Regions from separate parts of the Homo sapiens genome. Here regions 1, 2, 3, 5, 6 and 7 are each linked to region 4. Evidence: promoter capture Hi-C in 16 types of primary human blood cells and fetal thymus (Javierre and others, 2016). All regions are on one chromosome and are shown on one strand. The core of a region is centred on a gene start or on the middle of the fragment in contact, and the rest is flanking DNA. Distances in the headings are between cores, read along the strand shown.

Evidence for each region. Contacts are between HindIII fragments. The CHiCAGO score rates a contact against its expected background, and 5 or more counts as called.
Region 1: a contact is called between a fragment that was not itself captured here and the fragment with the promoter of CD58 in region 4, in 6 of 17 cell types (neutrophils, naive CD8 T cells, total CD8 T cells and 3 more). The highest score is 10.0, in neutrophils.
Region 2: a fragment that was not itself captured here is called in contact with the fragment with the promoter of CD58 in region 4 in 1 of 17 cell types (M0 macrophages); the score reaches 6.8 in M0 macrophages.
Region 3: a fragment that was not itself captured here is called in contact with the fragment with the promoter of CD58 in region 4 in 2 of 17 cell types (M1 macrophages and M0 macrophages); the score reaches 6.3 in M1 macrophages.
Region 5: a contact is called between a fragment that was not itself captured here and the fragment with the promoter of CD58 in region 4, in 2 of 17 cell types (erythroblasts and M1 macrophages). The highest score is 5.6, in erythroblasts.
Region 6: a contact is called between a fragment that was not itself captured here and the fragment with the promoter of CD58 in region 4, in 1 of 17 cell types (M2 macrophages). The highest score is 6.5, in M2 macrophages.
Region 7: a contact is called between a fragment that was not itself captured here and the fragment with the promoter of CD58 in region 4, in 5 of 17 cell types (M2 macrophages, monocytes, M1 macrophages and 2 more). The highest score is 9.7, in M2 macrophages.

The regions. Positions count from the first base shown.
Region 1 is chr1:116,125,506-116,128,880 of GRCh38, forward strand. It overlaps MAB21L3 (mab-21 like 3), which reads left to right. Exons shown (of 8, transcript NM_152367.3): 6 at 1,961-2,139; 7 at 2,640-2,834. Among named protein-coding and RNA genes, the nearest start is that of MAB21L3, 16 kb to the left of the region's middle. The HindIII fragment of the contact is 7,397 bases long and covers 1-3,375 here.
Region 2 is chr1:116,927,389-116,930,512 of GRCh38, forward strand. The region is part of intron 1 of PTGFRN (prostaglandin F2 receptor inhibitor); the gene reads left to right. Among named protein-coding and RNA genes, the nearest start is that of PTGFRN, 19 kb to the left of the region's middle. The HindIII fragment of the contact is 759 bases long and covers 1,388-2,146 here.
Region 3 is chr1:116,946,647-116,949,883 of GRCh38, forward strand. PTGFRN (prostaglandin F2 receptor inhibitor) reads left to right here. Exons shown (of 9, transcript NM_020440.4): 4 at 2,546-2,926. Among named protein-coding and RNA genes, the nearest start is that of PTGFRN, 38 kb to the left of the region's middle. RefSeq lists a silencer at 587-787. The HindIII fragment of the contact is 546 bases long and covers 1,090-1,635 here.
Region 4 is chr1:116,569,334-116,572,318 of GRCh38, forward strand. It overlaps CD58 (CD58 molecule), which reads right to left and starts at 1,693. Exons shown (of 6, transcript NM_001779.3): 1 at 1,570-1,693. The coding sequence starts at 1,639. It overlaps LOC124904385 (a long non-coding RNA gene), which reads left to right and starts at 1,642. Exons shown (of 2, transcript XR_007066497.1): 1 at 1,642-1,720. RefSeq lists an enhancer at 765-824 and silencers at 1,295-1,364, 1,435-1,894. The HindIII fragment of the contact is 6,609 bases long and covers 1-2,985 here.
Region 5 is chr1:117,036,549-117,039,989 of GRCh38, forward strand. All of the region lies in intron 2 of CD101-AS1 (CD101 antisense RNA 1), which reads right to left. It overlaps CD101 (CD101 molecule), which reads left to right. Exons shown (of 10, transcript NM_001256106.3): 10 at 1-4. Among named protein-coding and RNA genes, the nearest start is that of CD101-AS1, 21 kb to the right of the region's middle. The HindIII fragment of the contact is 4,956 bases long and covers 1-3,441 here.
Region 6 is chr1:116,900,933-116,903,944 of GRCh38, forward strand. No RefSeq gene overlaps it. Among named protein-coding and RNA genes, the nearest start is that of PTGFRN, 7.5 kb to the right of the region's middle. The HindIII fragment of the contact is 2,813 bases long and covers 173-2,985 here.
Region 7 is chr1:117,004,739-117,008,128 of GRCh38, forward strand. The region is part of intron 1 of CD101 (CD101 molecule); the gene reads left to right. Among named protein-coding and RNA genes, the nearest start is that of CD101, 4.7 kb to the left of the region's middle. The HindIII fragment of the contact is 3,226 bases long and covers 1-3,192 here.

The DNA.
Region 1 (3,375 bases), core at 281-2,780, 440 kb before region 4:
CCCATGCATACATACAGAGCTATGAAAAATGCATGTGCTAAATAGTTAAGTGAAAAACCAAACTGCTAAACAATATGAGATTCCATCTGTGTGAAAATAAAAGGATGTATTCATACATACATTTGTTTGTCTAGACAGAATAGTTCTGAAAATTTCCATAATGGTAATAGTTTATGTTTAATAGATTTTTTTACTAAGTAGAATAAGTTTCATGGGTTATTTAATTTAATCCTCATAACCACACAATACAGTAAGAATTCTTTTCCTACCTGTTTTAGAGATGAGGAAACTGAGACTTAGAGAGATTAAGTCACTTCTGAAGTTCACACACCTCATAAGCAGAGCCAGCTGCAGGGCAGGGTGTGGGCCGGCAGGGTGTGGGCCGGCAGGCTGGCTGCAGCATCGGCTCACCTCTTATGCTGTGCGACATTATTCATGGTGAAAGTGCAAAGCAGAGATTCAGAATGGGCAAGGTTTATGAGGCGCTTTTAGTAAATAATGCTAAAGTGCCAGTTGTCATGTTCCTGTCTGGGCAGCTCTGATGAGATGCAGACAAGCCCTTTATCCCACCCTGGCCAGGGAATGTTTCCCTTTTGAACAGCCTAACACAATTAATGTGCTTCCATTTTCTTCTCTGTGCAAGGAAATGCAAAATAATAGATTCCAATCTATTTCAAGAATTGGGATGAGCAAATAAGGATGAATAGATCCTGATCTATTCAAGACTGCTTATCTTTATCTGCAATGAAGGCAAACAAACAAAAACTGTACCTTTTGAAAGAAGAAGGAGCAAATTGGAAATGAGGAAATTATAGTATGTGAGCTGGAAAACTACTAGATGCGTTAGTTTTCTCTTCTTCTCTTTGCCTGGTTGGAAAACGAGGCAATGGAGACTTCTTTCAAATCACTCAATCCTCTGAAACAGTGGCTGTGACGTGCTTTGATGTATTTTGTGGTTACAGGGGTTTCTGATGATAGATACCTCTGAGGCTCGGCTGGCTGAATGGATGGTAAAAACAAATACCATCTAAGAGACTGAGGCTCAGATAAAAGAAAGGTGAAGCCAAATTTCACCAAAGGCATATGCATAAATAAGGAGGCTGATGCTGTCCCTAACCAGTGTCAGAATATCTAGGTGAAGAGGGAAAAAAAATGGCATTAGCCTTCCCTATGTTTGCATTACTCTGAAAACCAACATTTAGATATTTGGGTGGAATGGAGAAGGATATAGAAAAATAGTTAGGTTTCATTTTTACAGTAGCAAATACAGAAGTTCCCCAACTTGCCATGGCTCAACATATGATTTTTTTACTTTACAAGGGTGCGAAAGTGATACATGTTTAGTAGAACCCATACTTCGAGTACCCATACAACCATTCAATGAATTCCATGAGATATTCAACACTTTATTATAAAATAGGCTTTGTGTTAGATGATTTTGCCCAACTGTAAGTTAATGTAAGTGTTCTGAGCACTTTTAAGGTAGGGTAGGCTAAGCTATGATGTTTGGTAGGTTCGGTGTATTAATACATTTTCAACTTAGAATATTTTCAGCTTCATCAGGATGTGACCTCATCGTAAGTCAAGGAGCATCTATACTACACTTTTTCTTTTTATTCTATGGCTTTTACTTTCAGTTGATCCTCCTGAAAAGAATCTATTAATTTAAAAGAAAAGGTACCCCAAATGCCTTGGGGTTGGGGGAGAAAGAAAAACTCACCAGCAATGAGACTTCTTAGTAATGTTCCGATGCTGGCTAGCTGACTAACCATCTGGTTTTGATGTCAAAACCTTGACGTGCTACAGGCATTGTGATCCTTCACGTGCTACAGACATTGTGAAAGTTGCCACACCAGTTGCAAGGTGCTGGTCAGAGCAACTGCTCACAAATTTCTTGTTTGAACGCTTGTAATGTGCAAACCTTTCTCTTCTCCTTATCCATTTGGTCATTTCCCACCAGGTAAGGTCAGCCTGCTAGGAAACCGCTCTGCAGTTTGGGTTGCTGTGGAAACATCTGCATATCAGGTGGAACTGGAGCTGGTCCCCGCAGTGGAGATCCCCACCACCTGGTCCAAGAAAGCCCGGTGGCCTCGATGTCTGCAGCGCTGGCCTTCCCAAGAGAGAGTGGAGTGCATCAAGGTATCAGTGGGCGGGACCCAGCTTGCCAGAGCAGTGATGCCAACAGCTTAACCAGTCACAGCATTACTGACTGCCAATGAGTTTCCGAAGGAAAGTTGAGGTGTTACTAGATCAGCAGTTCTCAAAGTGTGGGCCCTGCAGCAGCGTCACCTGAGAACTTGTTAGAAATGCAGCTTCCCGAGCCCCCACTCTGGACCTGCTGAATGAGACCCTGTGAACAGGGCCCAGCAATCTGTGTTTTAAGAAGCCCTCTGGGTGATGTGATTCTGATGTATGCTCAAGTTGGAGAACTGCTGTAGGAGAGGAAGTGGGCACCATCTTCTAACTGTCCACATCCAAGGTGGCTTGTGGTCTCCCTGGCACCCCCTTCTCATCCCCACGTAGGATGTGCTGTCTGCCTGGTGACAAGTTCCCCAGACCAGCAGACTGCTTCAGAAATGGCTTTCTACACCAGTGAGCATTGTTCTTCTTATTTCCCAATATTTTTCTCTTTCTTCCAGTCGTTTGGATTTAACTTGTTGGCCTGTTCAAATTATCACTGGCAGCTGAGCTTCCTCCGTGCTGAGCAGGTGTTACTGGAACAGCTGGATGAAGATGGGGGCTGCCGTAGGAAGTGTTTTCAGGTCATGAGGCACCTGAAGGAGGACATCTGGTGCCCAGGGAACAGGCCGGTTATCACGTCCCACCATCTGCAGGTGAGTGTGGGGCAGGTTGGAGAAGACCCAGGGGCAGCTTTGGATAGGTCATTCTTCCTGTGGCCTCTGTAGGGCCTGGCCAGAGCCACTCAGAAGGGGTAGCATGTGTGAAAAATTCAGGATGAGGTTCTAGTATCTATATTTGCCATCCAACAAATTACTACGTATTATGGAAATATGTAAACTAGCACCATATGGGAGTCCACAACACCCCTGCCCAGGGTAAAATTTCCTCCCTCCCTTCCCTTTTCCAATTCTCTTCTATCCCACTTTTCCTCCCCTCTCACTTTTATTTTACCCACCAAACCAACCTGAGTGCTCACTAGGTGCCAGAAACCCTGCTGAGGTTCAGAAATGAATCACAAAATGTGGTTTGTGCCTCACACTTTGATGGCTTTATGTTTGCGCCAGTCTTTAAACCCACTGCAGCCTACGCACACCTCCTCATGCACACAGACCCACTAACACAGAGGGGACCAGGAAATGCAACACAGAGGTTACCACACACGTAGTGCCACACACTTCTTTCCAGGGTCCAAAT
Region 2 (3,124 bases), core at 517-3,016, 360 kb after region 4:
AATGTCATAGTTATATGATCTAGTGCTTTACTAGTAAGAAGGAATTCAGTTAGTTAATGATCCAGTCTTGAAGAAGTACCGTGCATTTTTGTTCCTCACTTGTTGGTGGCACTGTATGTCTTTCTGCCTTGCTTACCTTTTTTTTTTTTTTTTTTTGATACAGGGTCTCGACCTGTTCCCTGTTGCCCAGGCTGGAGTGCAGTGGTGCAATCATGACTCACTGCAACCTTTGCTTCCCAGGCTCAAGCCATCTTCCTGCCTCAGCCTCCCAAATAGCTAGGACCATAGGCACATGCCACCATGCCCAGCTAATTAAATTTTTTTTTTTTTTATAGAGACGAGATCTATGTTGCCCAGGCTGGTCTTGCACTATTGGCTTCAAGCCATCTTCCCACTTCAGCCTTCCAAAGTGCTGGGATTACAGGTGTGATGCAGGAGGTAATGGTTGTCTTGGCAGCAAAAACTAAGAAAAGTTGCATTGACTTTGAAGAGCCTGTCAGTACTGATGAAATGCAAAGTCTTTGTCGCCTCCTTTCTAATCTTGTTTGATTTGGAGAACATGCGTATGAAGGCTGAAAGAAGATTTCCAGATATAAATGGCAGGATAGATAACATTAGAGCCAGAACTGCCATGTAAATGTCAATTAGAAACAAGATTTAAGTCTCTGGACCACCCTTCTTACCCCCTGTGGCCTGTTGGTCACACTGCCCCTTCCTCGTGTTTCTGTAGCCAGGCACAGGCTAACGAGGACTCAGAGAGTGCCTGCTATGATAATTTTAGCCCCTGGAAAAAATAACAGACTTTGTGAGATTTAATGGCCACACCTGGGCCTTGTCATCACTTAGTATTCTTTCACCTTTTTGATTGTCAATTCTGATATTTCCCTCTGTGACCACAACCTCCTTGCTTTACTCCTTTCAGATTCCCTCCTATCTGTTGAACCTATTCTTCATCCTAATTGTGATTCCCTGATTTTGAACATTCTTCCTTTTCAGTCCATCAGGCCATTCTCACTTTACTTGGCTCTGAATCCAGGGTAGACTCTGGTGGTCAGCATTTCAGCAGTGAGCTTGTTAACAACCTGGGACCCTCTGTCATATTTCTTTGCCAGACCTCACATTGTATTACATTTCAGTAATTCACACCAATCGTAGTTTGTAAGCCTGAACTTTATTATCTTGCTGGGGAAAATCTCAAAGTCTGCCCATCTGAGATTCCAGCAAAGTCCTGGCATCTTTACCGCAGCTCAGCTCTCCTTTGTGTTCCTTTTGTGATGGTTTCCTATTATATTTCTTCTGATGCTTATTCTAAACCTTTGTCAGGATCTTTAGCATCTGAACTCCTTTCTACTATTTTACTGAGACAATAGAGACCAAAGAAACCTCAAGCTTTTGCCTCAAAACTTTTTAATATTTTTACTCCTTTTCTCTGTCTAACCTGAAAAAAAGTAAGGGCTCTATCTTTGGCTCTTTTTCCTCTCTATGTGTATTCTTTCCCCAAGTGACCCCAGGCAACCTGTGGCTTTAAATACTCTGTGTGTGCTGATGACTCTCTAGTGAGTATCTCCAGCTTGGACCTCCCCACTGAGCTCCAGACTTAAACATCCAGCTGCCTACTCCACTGCACTTCCACTTGGTGTCTGATAGGGACCTCACATTTAAAATGACCAGAAGACAACTCTTGCTTTCCTTGGTACAGATTTGCTTCCCTCTAATTACTTTGCTGTCTCAGTAAGTGGCATCACCCTGTATGCCAGATGCTCAAGCCAGAAGCCTAGATCATTCTTGATTGCTCTCTTCTTCATTCCCCACATTCAAAAAGTCAGTTTGTCTTTTCATTCATACACAAGTTAAGTCCTGAATCTGACTACTCCTGAGAGTCACCACCACTGTCAACCAAGGCCGGTGTTCATCAGCTTTTGCTTGGTCTACAGAAACTTCCCCCATGCTGGTGTCCTTGCTTCCAAATTGGCCCCATATAATCTGTCTTTCCCACAGCAGTCAGACTGAAATTTCTACAAAGAAAGTAGGCTCTATCGTTTTCTCGTTGATGTGCTTCCCATTTCAACCAGAATCCAGGGCCCCTGCCCCCTCATTCATTGTGATCAGTCACAGTGATCTTTTTTTTCTGTACTTTAAACACCCAAGCTTGCTCCATCACAGTGCTTTTATATTTGCTGTTCTGTGTCTGGAGCAGTTTTGCCCCAGAGCTTCAATCACTGTCTCTTCGTCATTCTGGTCTAAACTCAGACATGACCCTCTCAGAGAGGCCTTTCCTGACCACACTTCATATTGTCATATTTTAACTGAATAGCATTTGTCAGTGGGTCTACTTCATCACTGTCTCTTTCCTAGAACACAGTTTTCTTGCAGGCAGGGACTGGTGGCCATGTGTCCCCAGTGCCTAGAAGGTGCTTTGGGGGACTGACTGGCTGACTTTGCAGGATGAACCCCCTGCTTGCTGCTTCAGTGCCTTTTTCATGGTTGTGCCTTCTCTTCCCTACATCTTTGTTCCTTCTCTCCTGGCTCTTACTTTCCAGATCCCATACCCGTCATTGAAAATGCGCTTTCCTGGAGGTTGCCAGTGATTACTTAGCCATCAGTTCATTTCTCTTTTCTCAGCACCCACCTTCCTTGACTTTTCTGCATGTTTGACATTGTTGTTCATTTTTTTCAAACAAAGGCATATAGTAGGAGTCTGCTTTAGATATTGTGCAGGATGCAGATATGGGTAGGAAACAGCTCCTGCTTTAAAGGAGCTTGCAGTCTGCCAGGAGCAAGTAGATGAGTAATGTTCATAAAGAAACAGTAAGTGTTACTTCAAACCCTTTCTTGAAATTCTTGCATCCCTTGGCTGCTAGGGCATAAGCCTTTCCTGGTTTTCTTCCTAACTGGTTACTATTTCTTTTTTCTGTGCTGACTCTTTTTCTTCTGCTCATGCCTTAAACATAGGACTTTGCTGTGGTTTTGTCCCATTCCCTCTTTTCTATACAGTAATCTGTCTCCCGATGGTGTCATCGACTCCCACGTCTTCACTGCTGGGCAGATTTCCTTTTTACCCCCCACTCCCTCCGTGCATGTGACTCCACATTGATGTTAGGCTCAAATATCTTCTAGGGGTTTC
Region 3 (3,237 bases), core at 113-2,612, 380 kb after region 4:
CAGATGAGACAGGGTTCATAATCTTTTTGTGCCATGAGACTTTTCGACAGCCTTTTGAAACCTACAGACCTTTTCTCAGAATTAACATGTTTTAATTCATAAAATACAGTACACAAGATGACAAAGGAAAATAATTATATAGAAATCGTTATCAAAATACTTGTAAAGCAAATTGATTTTGTAGTAATATGCTGCTTTATTAATGCATTGATAATAAGATAGTGGCAGGCTTAACAACTGTACTTTCTGAATAGTAATGAGTATACATGATATTTCAGGATATCTGCAGCAACTGTAATGTGATTTCTATTTGGGGTAGTTCCAGACACAGGTAATACTACACTGGTTTGTTGCTTACTTTCACAGTGGGAGGAGATGCTATATTTCAGGTACAGATTAATAAAAATAAAGATGGAGTTTTTTTCCCATCCAAGTTCACAGACTCTAAATTCTCTTTGTGGATCCCAGGCTAAGAACTGTCACACTAGGCTGATGGTCCTTCTCTTCTTGTCCACACCTGCACTATCCATAGCTGGCTGCTTATATATTCTTATCACATTGTTATGATAAATGGCGCAGAGTGAAGCTGTGCTACCCATGTGGCAGGGAGCCTCCTCCCCAGCCCCTCCTCCCTGTCATGGGAGTGGTCTGGTTGCTGCAAACTTTGTCTGATTTATGGATTTAGTTATATTCAGGGACAGAGAACCTGCCCCACCACAGGCTTTGCCTGAGGTCCCTTCTTTCATTACAAATACTTAGAACTGGTCCTTTTTTTCCCTTTAGCCTACTCCATCCTGTCTCTCAGCAGTAAACTCCCAAATCCAGAATGTGTGGGACCTCTGGTTAGTGATGTGACAAGATACTGAGCCACTTGCACAGAGAAAATTACAAAGTGAACTACACAGCTGAAGAGACATCCCTGCCAATATTTTCTGAACCTGAGACTCTGTTTTCTCCATCCATACAGTCCACAGCTGCTTGTTAAGTACTTCGTCACTGACCCGACTCCCTCCTGAGTCGTCTTTTACTTCCAGTAGCTGAAGTCCTGGCAGAGGTGACTCCAGCAGGATTCCAGGGTTTCTGGCCACAAGCTTTGACTGTAGAATGGTTCAAACTGCAGAGCCTGGCTCAGGGCAGCAGTTTCCATACTTAGTCCTCACAAATGATACCCTCAGGCTACTTTTGGCCCTTTTAAAGAGATGATCGAGAGAAAGAATTAGGAGACTAGGTGGAAGGAGAAATTGAACTTTTAAATTGCCTTTTCTAATACTGTGCCCACCTTATTTTCTGTCTTCTGTCTAGCTGGATCTTGAACTTGACTTGAAATATTTGTTTGAAATATTGTCAGGCTTTGGACATATTCATATGAAAGTAATTTACGCCAAGGAGCACGGGCTTTGGAGTTGGTCTTTTCTGAATTGGGTCCCTGAGCTTACTGGGGCCAGCGCCATGCCGTTGATGCCAGCGACTTGCTAGAAGGCCAGGGCTGTGCCTCTGCTTGAATCCCCTGGGAAGTGCTTGGTACTTGTCATCTAAGTAATTGTTCCCGGACATTTCACAAGTTGATGTTTTTCTACTCAGATTACAGATGCTCTTTTAAAATCTTCTGAATAGAATAAAATGTTTCCATGTGAAAGCTTTGACAGGGGAATGCTGGAACTAGATCTGCCTTGAGTCTGTGACACCAAATACTTCAGTGCTTCATCTAAATATAGTCTACTTTTAATTATCCACACTAATGAGAAAGGACAGTAGTGCAGATAATCCAAAAATCATCGTGTTTTAGTTTTAGAATATGTTTTATGATTGGCTTTTATGTGGGAATGTCTAAGAAATAAATTATACTCTCAGTACATTACATTTTGAAGACTTGACTCAAGGAAAATTGTCTGGTTTCACTTTCCTGGCCCTTCTGTTTAGGATTTTTCCCTTTTATCCCTTAGACAGTTTCACCCTCACTTCTGCTGCCTTATTGCCTAGCCCCCAGCTAACAATATGTACCAGTCAGAAGCAAGTCTTCCTTTTCTGTAAAATCACCCAAGTTTCATCATGCACATGGAGAATGTATAATTTTAGTTTTACAGTCTTCAATAGACTGCTTATCAAAAGATAGCATAACAGTGAAGAGCAGAGTTTCTAAAGGCAGATAGCCTGGATTTGGATTCCATCTCTGCCACCTATCAGCTGTGTGACCTTGGGCAAGTTACTTAACTTCTCTGTGCTTCAATTTCCTCATCAGTAAAATTAGGCCTCTTAGGGTTGTTTTGAGGATTATTATATGTAAAGCACTCAGAACACTGCCTGGCATATATAGCAGATATATGTAAATGTTTGCGGCTATTGTTGTTTTTATAAAATAAGAAGAAATGTGGTATGTTCTGTTAATTTATTCATTAAATATTTCTCAAGCACTTACAACTGTACAAAGCCTTCTAACTTTAATGCTGTAAATAAGAACTTAAAAGGAGATGCTTTAAAGAGGGTGGAGAATAGAAGGGGCAAACATAATCAGATTACCTAGATGTATTTGTTTTTAATTTTCAAGTTCTGCGAGCAGCTGTGCCCAAGAATGTGTCTGTGGCTGAAGGAAAGGAACTGGACCTGACCTGTAACATCACAACAGACCGAGCCGATGACGTCCGGCCCGAGGTGACGTGGTCCTTCAGCAGGATGCCTGACAGCACCCTACCTGGCTCCCGCGTGTTGGCGCGGCTTGACCGTGATTCCCTGGTGCACAGCTCGCCTCATGTTGCTTTGAGTCATGTGGATGCACGCTCCTACCATTTACTGGTTCGGGATGTTAGCAAAGAAAACTCTGGCTACTATTACTGCCACGTGTCCCTGTGGGCACCCGGACACAACAGGAGCTGGCACAAAGTGGCAGAGGCCGTGTCTTCCCCAGCTGGTGTGGGTGTGACCTGGCTAGGTGAGTGGTTTGGAGAATGACTCTTAACCTCTTCAGCTTAACCCCTCCTCGGAGTTATCTGAAGGAGTTATCTCAGGAGGCTCTGCGCTTTGCATGACTTCGACATTATTTCTATTGGTTCATGCATACTTTGGCCCAGATAGATCCCAAGCTGGGGATGAAATAGAATCTGGCAGACAAGGGAAATGTTTAGATAATGTGGCCTCAGTTGTCTCAATACCCTCATTTGAGAGTATATAGTTTCCTTTTGTTGTCGACATTTGCAGGGTCAGGGCACTGCTGAATGGCTCTTTGAAATGAATCTTTGTTGG
Region 4 (2,985 bases), core at 443-2,942:
CCTCTTTGTTGCTAACAGATTCTTCTTCCCAGGCGCATGGTCCTGATCCTGTAAGGCCCAGGAGAAGCTCTCTCAGCTCAGAGAATCCAGACTCCCTAAGGGGACACTCAGCAATCTTTTCCCACATTATCACATGTCCACACATCACCAGTCCTTGAAGGCTGGGCTCAAATATCCTCCCTCCCATGAAGACTGCTTCACAAAAGACACTTGATTTCACAAAAGAGACTGCCTTCTTCTTCCCTCTGTACCCTCACAGCTCACCTTTTTTTTTTTTTTTTTTTTTTGAGACAGGTCATATTCTGTCACCCAGGCTGGAGTTCAGTGGCACAATCACAGCTCACTGCATCCTCTGCCTCCGGGACTCAGGTGATTCTCCCACCTCAGCCTTCCGAGTAGCTGGGACTATAGGTATGCGCCACCACGCTCAGCTAATTTTTGTATTTTTTGTAGAGCCGATCTTTCACCGTGTTGGCCCTGCTGGTCTCCGATTCCTGGCCTCAAGTGATCCACCTGCCTCAGCCTCCCAAAGTGCTAGGATGACAGGTGTAAGCCACCACGCCCAGCCCAGGCCTCTTACAACACTGACTTATCTGATCGTGCGGGTACTTTTGAGTCTATCTCAACCCCTCCCCCTTGGCTGTCTTCCATAGATGCACACGCGCACCTCCCGGGCAGGCAGCGGACGCTGAGCAAACGGACGGACGGGCTGGAGGGCTGGCAGTGGGGTGCAGGAGCCAGCCATGAGAACCCCTCAAGTACAGTTGAACTCGCTGGGAGGTTACTGCTGTACTCCCGGGGTTTTGCTATGGCCTGACTGGGGCCAATGTGTGGAGGGTGAAGGAGGATGGGGAGGCAAAATGGGAAGAAGGGGACCTATTTCCTGAGGTTGTTGTGACGACTTGGCTGACAACACACGGAGAGGATGGAACCAGTTCTGATACTAGTTTTTAGGATTTGAGGGGAGGAAAAAGGAGCAGGAGTCGCACCACTTAGGAATCCCAACGTGAGGCCGCTGCCGACTGGGCTTCCTAGTTGCCTACCCGCTCCTCGCTGTGGGGCGATTCTGAAAAGTCCTCTCTGCTGATACGGCGGACGCCGCGCGGGCGGGGACGGCACCGCGCGGGGAGGGCAGCAGGCGTCGCCCTCGAGCAGGTGGCATCCGCGCCCGCTCCCCGTCCCGGGCGCGTTCACGGCTGGGAAAAATTTTGCAGTCCGCTGAAGCGCTCAGCGACGTTACTGGGGAAGCCCAGGAAGGAACTTGGTCACTGGAGCTCGGGAGGGGGCCGGCGGGGGGGCGCAGGCCCCGCAGGAGAGGCTAGCGGGCCGGAGCCCGTCCTTCCCTAAGGCCACACAGTTCCTTGCTGACTCCATGAGGGACACTGGCGATGAAATAACAACTTTCTCTTCCTGAAAAGGCTCCCACGGCTGAGTTGTTCCCGGCCCACAGCGACCCGTCCCCACCCGTCTCTGATCGGCAACCGCCTCGAGCCCGGCGCGTCCACCCAGCCTGGGTGCTGCCCAGTACCCGCCGGCCGGCGCGGGGCCCCTGGGGCAGGCTTCACTCACCAAAGCAGTGCAGCAGGCAGACCACGCTGAGGACCCCCAGGGCCCGCCCCGCGTCGCTCCCAGCAACCATGGCTCGTCGGGCCGGCCTCTGCGCGAGTGCCCAGCCACAAGCAGCCCTAAGTTCAAGCACCGCCTACGCGGTCGGCCAGAAGTAGGGCTCCGCCCCGCCCTGGGCTGGCAGCCGGCGGCCCGCCCCGGCCCTTCCTCCCCCACCCTCCGCGGCGCCGCGTTTGTCTTCGCGCTTCCACTCCCCGGGCGCGCCTCTGGCCTCGGCTCTGCGCGCCTCCTTCCTGTGTCCCCGGGGCGCCGTCCAGTCCCCCAGCTCGGTCCCTCCCGTCATTCCGCCGCCATTCCATACGCTATTTTTAAGTAAGAAATTCTTTCCTTGAAAATGGCTTGGTTTTAAAAACCAAGGTTTTAAAGTAAGAAATTCTTTCCTTGAAAATGGCTTGGTTTTAAAAACCAGGTTTCTCTGCCTTCCTACCGCACCTCCCGCGCTTCCCCTTAGCGTTTGGGGCGTGCTGTAGGCCCCTCCGTGGCTAGACGGGGCTGTGGCTCCCAGAGAGCCACCGGAGGAGGCAGCAGGACGGGCGGGAGCACCCGGGGCCCCTCATCCCTTCAGCGCTGTGTGATCCCGCATCAGACGGCCTCTTTGAACCACTTTTCCTCAAACATGACAAGGAAAGGGAGCATTTTAGACAACTGTTAGGCGTAGGGTTACCTGAGGCAGGCCTCCCCCGTCCCCATACTCCCTTATCCCCGGAGCTGGGATTTCCAGCCTTTGGTTTCTCCCTTCTCAGATTCCTCTTTTTCTGTCTTCCCCCATCTCAACCGGGACTTTCCCTCAGGCTGAGATGTCAGATCCACATCTCCCTCACTGCCCAGCCTCCCCACATCCATCCAGCCCAAGCTGAGGCAGGCACTCATCACTCTCCCCGCTCTTCATCAGTCTGGATTGAGCTGGCCCTCCCCTCACATCCCTATATCCCAGAACAAATGACCCTATTCCCAGAACCAGCTCCTCACATCAGCCTCCCTGTCTGTCCCCTTTCTTGCAGACAGAAGCACCAGAGTTGCCCCTGCCCAGCTGAGGGAGTTCACAGAACTCTTAGTTATTATGTGAGCAGGAATCCATTTCCATGAACAGGACTCCCTGCTGCCCAAATAACCACCAACACATACATGGTGCAGGTTGTGAAACTGAGTGGGAATGTGCTTTCTTGCTGCTTCACCTCCATTATCCCCAGGTGGGGACTCGAAGTCACTCAAGACACTTGAACCATATTGCAAAGAGACATGAATTATTTCTTAAGTTAGCCATAAAATCTTAAAAGGTATCTCTATCAGTGAAACTTCTGGGACCAATGCCCTCTACCACAAACCTGCTATCTCGAGATATTCCCTACCATCTGTAGA
Region 5 (3,441 bases), core at 715-3,214, 470 kb after region 4:
CTCATGTTCTTGTGGAGAGTTATTTGTTACTCGCCAGGCAAACAAACGCTGGTTTTTTTCAGGGAACAGAGACCCTCAAATATGAAACGGTTCCGGCCAGAGCACAGCATGGGAAGTGTGAGTTCCCAGTGGGTACCTGCTGCATGTCAGGCCCTGTGCTAGGAGCAAGGGGCCCTGTGGTGACTCAGACACAGCCCCATGCCCCTGGGATGCTCACCTTGTTTGTCCTGGATGCTCTGCTTTCATTAATGGGACTTAGAGCACCTTTGATAGTCTAAGCAGCCACATGGCACTCTTTGTCCCATAGGCAACTAAAATCCTCCAAAACTAAAACACCCCCACAGTATTTTCTTCTTTTTAAATTTACAGAATAAAATTTGCCCTGATCCAGTTCAGCAGACATTTTATGTGAAACCTCTTCTCTCTCCAATTACATACTGTTTACCTTTGGTTTTTGAAACTTAGTGGAGAGCTTTACTTTTACTTATTGATTTCAGCTTTTCCATTTCATGCCACCACCTGGTTTTACTTTTGGCTTTTTGTGTTATAAATCTTCCTTGGCAAAAGGACAAGCCTCTGTCTCAGGAGTTGACCAACCAGGGCCTATGGGCCAAATGCAGCCCACCATCTGTTTGTTTTTTAAAATACAATATACTGGAATATGGTCACTCCCATTCGCTTACATACTGTCTGTGGCTGCTTTCACGATAAAAATGGCAAAGTTGTGTAGTTGCCACAGAGACCATAGGACCTACATTGCCTAAAATGTTTATTATTCTGGCCCTTTACAGAAAACATTTGCCAGCCCTGCTGTCCTTTAATGTTCTGTCTCTCTTAGCCATGTATTATGTCCCTGGGAAACTGATTTGACCTCTTATATCTGAATCTCTTCTATATCTGATTAATCTAATAAATAATCTTAGGTTTTCAGGATTGGCATCTAGTCCCAGCCATTCTGAAGTTTGACTCCGCTGTACCGGCCTCACACTATAGATGGGAAGTTTATCACCCTGCAACGTTTCACGCCATCATACTGAGTACCTACTCTGTGCAAGATAAGATGACACAGGGATGATTAAGGCATGGTTGCTGTTAATTATTTTTATTGTATTGAGATGTATAGAAAAAACCGATTTATGGCAGAAGATGAATGCAATGGTATAAAGTCATGTGCCATAATAATTTCTTACAATCGTACAGGATTTTTTTCATTATCTCAGAATTTTACAGCATCTCTATACAAAAGGAATTGTTATTCCTGTCCTACAGGTAAGGAATTATAGCTCAGAGAGGTTGGGATTTATCCAGGATCACCCAGCCATATGCAGAAGAGTAAAAGCTCAAACTTAGGTCTGCTGACAAGTCCTGGACTCTTTCCACAATAAACACTCTTTCCACAATAAACACAAAAAATATGCTCAAATCCATTGCTATGGGGGAAAATCTGGATATAATAATAGCCACTTTGAGTGGTTGTTATGGTGATCAAATCAGATACATCAATGGAGATAAGTTTTAAAACCACATCAAGTCATAAATGAATGTCAGCATTAACCCAAGTTTTTCTAGGACTTAACCTGTCCGTGTACATAAATAAAATGTAATCAATAGTAATAATCCAAATTCTACAGGCTTTCCCTCCCAGAATATTTACACAGGGTCTTGGCCATCTACAGTGTCCTTTAGCTATTTCTGGGGGATTTCCCAAAACTGGAAATTTTTTTTTAAAGAGATGAGGTCTCACTAGATTGCTCAAGCTGGCATTGAGCTCCTGAGCTCAAGTAATCCTCCTGCAAGAGCCTCCCAAGTAGCTGGGTCTACAAGTACACACCACCACATCTGGCCCGGATTCTGTGAATTCACATGAGCTCACAAGCAAGTCCATTCCCATGTGGTTCCCTGCAGCTCCGTTGGGCTCTGCGGGCTCCCACCGCAGCTGGCATGCCAGAGCACATGAGATGCCAAGCTGAGTCGTGTTCAGTGATAAGCAGTGAAAAGGGACTCTTTCTCTGTCTTTACATTACACTCTTCTGTAAGGATACAAATTCAAGATTGTTTGCACCCGTGTCTCTAAAGATTCTCTTGTGAAAACTGTTCCATTAGCATTTGCCCAGTATCTCCTTTCTCCAGAGTCCAGACACCAGCAAGTCTGCGGCCAGGCTGGGAAAGACTTCATGCTATTCTCTCCATTTCCCATTGCCTGTTCCCAGCAGCCTCTGCACTAACCTCCTCATCACAGGTCCTCTTTTCCTCCAGCAGGAAGGTTATGCAATTGTGCTGTTGGGGAGCTCTACCACTTGGCAGACAGAGCCTGAGAAGTCTGCATTCCCTGTAGGCTCAGGTGGGAATTCTGTCAAACTGGCTATTAATTTTTACTCCTAATAAAGTGCTACAGGCATTTAGAAATCAGAGACAACTTCATAAAGAAGATGTAAGTTGAACTGGGCTTTAAAAATAAGAAAATATTTTGACAGGAAAAGGGTTAAGCAGAGGTCTGGACAGAGGAAGCCCCATGAAAAGTGCAGTGCTTACAATAGCTTTGGGTTAAGTGTCAGATCTATGAAGGGGAGCAATGGGAGATAAATCTGGAAAAGTAGTTAGAGCAAAATTCTGGGGTTGGGGAAGGACAGAAGAACAGATCTTGAACATGGATAATATCTTGGACTTCATGTGGTGGACAATAGTGAGCCAGTGAATGTAATGTAGTAGGGAAGGAGAATTGAAAAGCAACAGCATAGATGATAGGTGGGGTTGGAGTGAGGATGGCAGTGGTACAAAGGTGAGGCAGGGAAGCCAGCTGGAAAACCATCTTCACTCTCTTAATTTGTGTAATGGCTATCACACCAATTTTGTGAGCATTTTGAGTATAGAAAAAAATTATCAGAAAGTTTCAAGTATCAAGCTCATAGAGGTAGCTCCTGTATATTAAACACAATGACACATGATGAGACTCTTCTTGTGTCTAATAAATGCTCGTTAACCTAGTTTTCTACTGATAAGTTTAGAGATAAGAGACAGTTCCATCCATTCATTATATTAACTGGCTTTCCATTTTTTAAAAAATTTATTCACCTTTACATTTAATTTACTTGTTAGAAATTTGGAGTTTCTACCATATTGTCTCTTAATCCAAGGCTCCTTCTGAACCAGCTCTGACTGCCAAATAGAGATGTTTTGAGTTGAAGCATAATTATCACATTAAGCCATTTACCGAGACGAGAGACTATATTGGATGAGGACAGTGATTAAGAAGTTTCTATGGTATAAATAACCAGCATAGGAAAATCCAAATTTATTACTCCTATAAGGTCACATTGTCAAGGGAACCGAGAGGGTGTGTGCTTCCATTTTAAACTGGCTTTTCAACAATAGGATTCTTGGTGGACTTATCTCACCCTAGTCCCTTTCTGGGTACCTTGTGCTCCAGCCACACCAAATTAC
Region 6 (3,012 bases), core at 329-2,828, 330 kb after region 4:
ATGAGTATGTCTGTTCAAATAAATCCTAACTTTCTCACTGGGAAGGAATGACTAGTTCCCACGACTCACAGGACACCACCCCCCACCCCAATATCAAAAATTTCACCTTTTTTTTTAATACTAGCACACAGTGAGAAGTGGTACGCTTCTGTTTTTCTCGGTTTTCATCATAAGCTTTGGCTGTCCCTGGCATTCTGTATGCCACACATGTGCCAAACGCTGCAGCACAAGGATGGGCTAGGGGCAGGAAGGCAGCACAGGAAAGGGGCAGGTCTGGGAGAGGACTTTTGTTAGGTCAGTGCAAAAGTAAGTGTGGTTTTTGCAATTAAAAATAATGGCAATCAACCTAACACAATTTATTGAGATGGTAGTACATGCCAGACTTCATTTTTAAATTACAAATGAAAATGCTACTATCCCTATAGCTGCCATGTTAGATGAACAGGTTGGAGGAAGAGAATGCAAAATGAGTTCATTCTGATTCAAAGTTCTTGGTACATTACCTGAAAATGTGTTTACAGTGGGTGAATATCTTCCCCTAGAAAAGAAAGCCTCACTCAAGCCATTCACTTCTTTAATCAGAGCTCAGGAGCTTTCCAAGCTATTTTATTTTAAGCAATTTCCTGGTGAAAATCTAGCACAAACCTCCATTTGAAGTGCTAATAATTCACATTGTAACTCCAGTCGGCTCCCTTGTCTGCATTTGATGTACTTTGTGAAGTCATTTTAATATTCCATAATCACTTTAATATACTGTGTGATATTGGAGAAGTTACTTAGGTTCTCTGAGCCTCAGATGCTTCATCTGTAAAATGAGGGGGTTGGGTTAGATCAGTGGTTTTGGATGACTTTTTCCTCAAACAAAATTTTATGTGGCACTCCAATATATAAAAGAGATCAAAGCAGAAGTATTCTAAGTATAGCTGAAGCATTTATTAAGCAGACCTACTATGTTTCGAACGTTGTGCTAGGTGCCTGGGAAACAAAGCTGAGGGGAACACAGCCTCTACTTTCATTCTAGTAGAGGAAACAGACACATAAACTAGGACAGATACACAACCCTGAAACAAGCATCAGATGCAGAACTGGTGACATGGACACGGTGGAGACAGCAGCTAGGGAAACAGGGAGAACTCTTGGGGGAGTAATGAGTAGCTGTATCCCTCGGCCCCTCCTGGGGTTTCCATGCAGCCATGTGGACAGTTCAGAGTATGCTGGAGTGGCCCGCCTCACACATATCTGTCTCTCCACTTGTTTGCTTCAGGGCTCTAGACTCAGACAGGTACAGACGGGAGACAAGGAGGAGTGAATGCCGTAGGGGCCAAGCTCAGCTGTTGAGGCAGGAGAATCAGGGAGTAAATACCTGAGCCTCTTGTCCCCTGAGGGACAGTTCAAAGGCACATTCTACACAGTTTGTTCACAGCTGTGCTTACCTCAATAACACATATTTATTGACTTTCTCTTGTTCCCTGACTTGCTCTCCCATTCCCTCAACACTGCTTTTTGAGATAACTTCCCAGATAAAGAACTCACAGCCAAATCAGTGTCTCACGCTTTGCTTTCAAGGGAACCCAACCTACAGGAGTAGCCATGTGACATGTGAAACGCATTTCTGAGGGAGGGGACAGCAGGAGATGGCAGAGTACACAGGAGCCATAAGCGGCTTGGTGCCGGCTGGACCATACCACCTGAGCTGTTGACTGCATAGAATCGGGCACACTCCCATTCATCTGCCCTGGACACGCAGGCCACTCCAGCCTTCAACCACTGTGTGCTTAGAGAAAGCAAATGAACCCTAATATTTGCTAACTCAGTGCAGACAGATGAGCAGTGCAGTTTTCTAGGGTTAGGAGAGTCAACTATCTGCTGCTCTTGGAAACAACATCCTTTCAGGAGCTCCTGTGACTCTAGTGGATGGCAGTGCCCTTTCTCATCACACTCCGCCTTGAGTTCTAGGGCGGCTGACACAGCCTCATCACATTCCAGTCTTTCCCTGGAAGCAGAGCTCATTGTGATTATTACCTCATTGCATTTAATCGGCAAATGAGGAGTTAGAATTTAAAATGTCTGTTGAAGGGCAGGAGGAGTGGACTAGAATTTTACAGTAAGAAGGAGTTGCTGCATTGTGCAACTGCATGAACATAATAAAAGAAATGAAAATGAAAAAACAGTAAATGAGGGAAAGGGAAAATAATGATGGCAAGGTAAGGAGGAGTTAGAAGGTTATGCAAAACTAGAGTTATGCAAAACTAGGAGCTAGAAGGTTATGCTAGAGGTTATGCAAAACTCATGCTATAAGTCCTCTTCAAGGCTTGGCACTGTGGCTCATGCCTGTAATCACAACACTTTGGGAGGCTGAGGCAGGAGAATTGCTTGAAGCCCAAGTTCAAGACCAGCCTGGGCAATACAGGGAGACCCTGTCTCTACAAAAAAATTTTTTTAAAAATTAACTGAGCATGGTGGTGCATGTCTGTAGTCTTAGCTACTTGGGAGGCTAAGGTGGGAAGATCACTTGAGCCCAGGAGGTTGAGGCTGCAGTGAGCTGTGATCGTACTACTGCACTCCAGTCCAACTTGGGTGACAGTACAAGACTCTGTCTCAAAAAAAAAAAAAAGTTTTATTCATTTGCTAGAGGGAGGTCATAGAATTGAACATAACCTTCCCAATCACTACCATGAAAAGGAAAATACTATCAGTTACAATATTTACAGATTCCATACGAAAAAAGAAACTAGTCACTAAGGAAAAGCACAACTATTTGTGGTTCTGAGATGAGAGTAAAATTCCTCCATGCATCCTAAGCAGAGGCTGCTGCCTGATTTAACGAAGAGCATCTGTAAACCTGTCCTTCTGGGAAACAAAATGACAAAGTGCACAAAGCTGTTTCTTAGGACATCCCTCAATATAGGCTGATGGTATCATGACAAAATGCAATTCAGTAAAAGCAACTTTATGAGGGTGCCAATATGGTATATCCAGGTACTAAGCTTACTGATGTTCTACTTAATTCAT
Region 7 (3,390 bases), core at 330-2,829, 440 kb after region 4:
ATCTCTGCCAGTCATGCCTTCTACCTGAAAAATACCTTTGAAATCTCCACACTATTTCTTTCACTTTTCTCAGAAAGTAGTATGTCTTAGACTGTTTGGCGTGTTGTAGCAAAAGTACCATAAACTGGGGCGGGTGGGGGAGGGGGGCTTATAAACAACAGAAATTTAGTTTTGGAGGCTGGGAAGTCTAAGATCAAGGCACTGGCAGTTTGGTGTCAGTGAGGGCCTGTTCCTCATAGCACCTTCTAACTGTGTCCTCACGTGGCAGAAGGGGCTAGCGAGCTTCCTGGACTCTTTTACAAGGGCATTAATCCCATTCATGAGAGCACAGCCCTCATGACCTAATTGCTTCCTAAATGCCCCATCTCCTAATACCATCACCTTGGAAATTAGGTTTCTGCGTGTGAGTTTTAGGAAGACACAGACGTTGAGACTATAACACAGCACCCTCCCTGTCATCCCTCTACTAGGACATTACTTCATTCATCCTCCTTGCTGGCTTCACCCATTCTCCATCCCACCCCTTCCTACCGCTCCTCACCTAGCTACTCTTTCTAGCTGCCATCCTAATCTTCATTTTTCCTTCTCCATGAAACTCCTGGAAGTAGGTTCCACTTCCTGCAGTCACTTCTTACCCTGAAAACTGCTGCTTCCACTCTATTGAAATCCCTTTTACAAAGATCTTCATGGACATCCTCCTCATCGAGCTAACAGGAGTCTCCTCTGCCTTCAGAGTCCCCAACCTCTTGGCAGCCTTTGGCAGTGCTGACAAGCCCTTTCCTCTTAGAATGTTCTTCCCTTGATTTCCAGCCGCTGTGTCCTAGTTGCCCTCCATCTAACTCTTCCCTCTGTAAGTTTTGTTCCTTATCCCATCCCCTAAAGAGAGAAATTCCCTAGTAATCTCTCCTTAGTCCTCTTCCTTCTGTTCCCCAATACTTCCCAACACTTGTATGTAACTGACCTAATCTACATCTAACAGTTCAGAACTCTCCCTAGTTACAAACAGACATTTACAGGAGCCAACAAGAAACAATGGGGACAGCCATGGATTTGGCATTTGCAGATCTATTAATATGTTCAAGTCTGGCTCAAATCCTAGGAGTTTTTACATAACTAAATATGGGAATATCACAGGGTTTTTGAAAGGATTCGATTACAAATATTTTCAAAGGGTTAAAGTCTATTTAACCCTTTGAAAATATGTATAATTTATATGTAAATATAAATATCTATATTTAAATATTTCAAAATGTTTGCTGGATATCCTTCCTGTCTATTCCATGGTCTTCAAATTTAGTATTTCTAAAATTAAATGCATTATATTTTCACTCACCCTTATACACACAACAGTAACTCTTCCTAATATCTGTATTTCTAGTCAGAGTATCAATATTCTCCCAGGCAGCCTTATCAAACCTATGATCTTTGATTTCTTCCTACCTCTCATCTCGCCATTTAACCCTGCTACTCCCAAGCATCCAACGCACTGAAAACTACAGATTTTGTCTCCACAGTAGCTCAGTTATAGTACCTTTACTTTTATCCCTATTGCTTTTGTCACCTCTGTCCTGAGCTCCTACAATTACCTGATTGTCTATTTCTAACTTCCATCATTCTGCACACAAACTGTGAGGTTCATTTTCCTAAAACCTCCTAAACACTTTCAGTGGATTCCCCATTGCCAATGAATCAAGTCCAAACTTTTAAATGTGATAGTCAAGTCCTTTCTGCTCTGGACCCAAAAATTGCTGTCCAGTTTTACCTCTTTCTATTAATCTTTATGCAGCCCTCCCCCATCCAGTTGATTACTCTTTAATTTTGAGTAAGTCTTTTGATTCCTACTCAGAGTCTTGCCATGAAATCTCCTTCACCTAAAATGCTCTGTCTCCCCACTTACCTTGTCATAATCTTCCCAATTCTCCAAAATCCATTTCTAATGCCATCTCTTATGCCATCTCCATAAACCTATTTCCCTCCCCTCAAAATGTAGTCCCTCTTCAAAATTTTTGAAGCACTTTTATTATATGTTTTCCATAGAGAGGTGACTACTATCCACTTGATTGGATTATGAAATCCAGAAGTCAGAATCTAGCCTAAATTCATCTTCATATCTTAGTCCCTCAAGCATGAGAAATACTATAAGTGGTTGAATAAATATTTATTGAATTGGCAAATAAAGCAGTAGAAAAAGAAGTGCGTGTTTTCACAATAAAAATTTTCAAACGTGGTACCCATCTTGCTGAAAAGTGATGGGAAACGTTCGAGAAGTGTTGCCTAGCCACCAAAAATAACATTGTTTGTAGAAACATGCCTTGATATATGTGGGTTAGTGGTACCTCAAAAGCCACATTAAGAAAATATTTTTATTGTGAAATACAACATAAGAAAATTTTTATTATTTGTTTAAAATAATTTTAAAATAAATTTAAAATTTGTTAAACAAATTTTCAGTTTAACAAATAAGCACAAAGTAAAATCTGTATAATGTCTACCCAGGTCAAGAAATAGAATATCGCCAAGACCCTAGAAGCACCCACCCAGCCCGCAGTGTGCCCCATCAGATCACAAACACCATGCAATCACTTTCCTGACTTTCATGATAACCACTTCCTAGTTTGCTTTTTTTTTTTTCTTTTTGAGATGGAGTTGCCCGGGCTGGAGTACAGTGACGCAATCTCGGCTCACTGCAACCTCTGCCTCCTGAGTTCAAGCGATTTTCTTGCCTCAGCCTCTGGAATAGCTAGGATTACAGGCACCTTGCCACCATGCCTGGCTAATTTTGTATTTTTAGTAGAGACAGGGTTTCACCATGTTGGCCAGGCTGGTCTTAAACTCCTGCCCTCAAGTGATCTGCCCACCTTGGCCTCCCAAAGAGCTAGGATTACAGGCATGAGCCACCTCGCCTGGTCATTTCCTGCCTTTTTGCTAATGATTTCAGCCCTTTATGTGTGCATCACTAAATAATACAGTGTGGTTTCACCTGTTTTTAAACTTTATAAACAGTACGATCATTCTGTATATAGTCACAAGGATTCAGAAGTGTTTTTGTATCTTGCTTTGAACATAGTCATTCATGTTATTGCAAATAGTTGTAATTGTTGATTTTTGTTTCTATATAACATTCCACTTTATGACTGTACCACAGTTTATCCAGCCTACTGTTGATGGACATATGGGTTGTCTCTTGTTTGAAGCTTTAATGAGCAGTGTAGCTGTGCATATTCTTTCACACATAGCTTGGTGCACACATTTCTCTAAGACGACATTACTGAAAAGTGTCTTAAACTGCCACTGTAGTATAACTTGTTGGTAAGTAATAATTTACATTTTTCTAAGGTGGTCTAACTTGTATTCCTAGATTCTTATTACAAAAAAAGCATGATATAAATA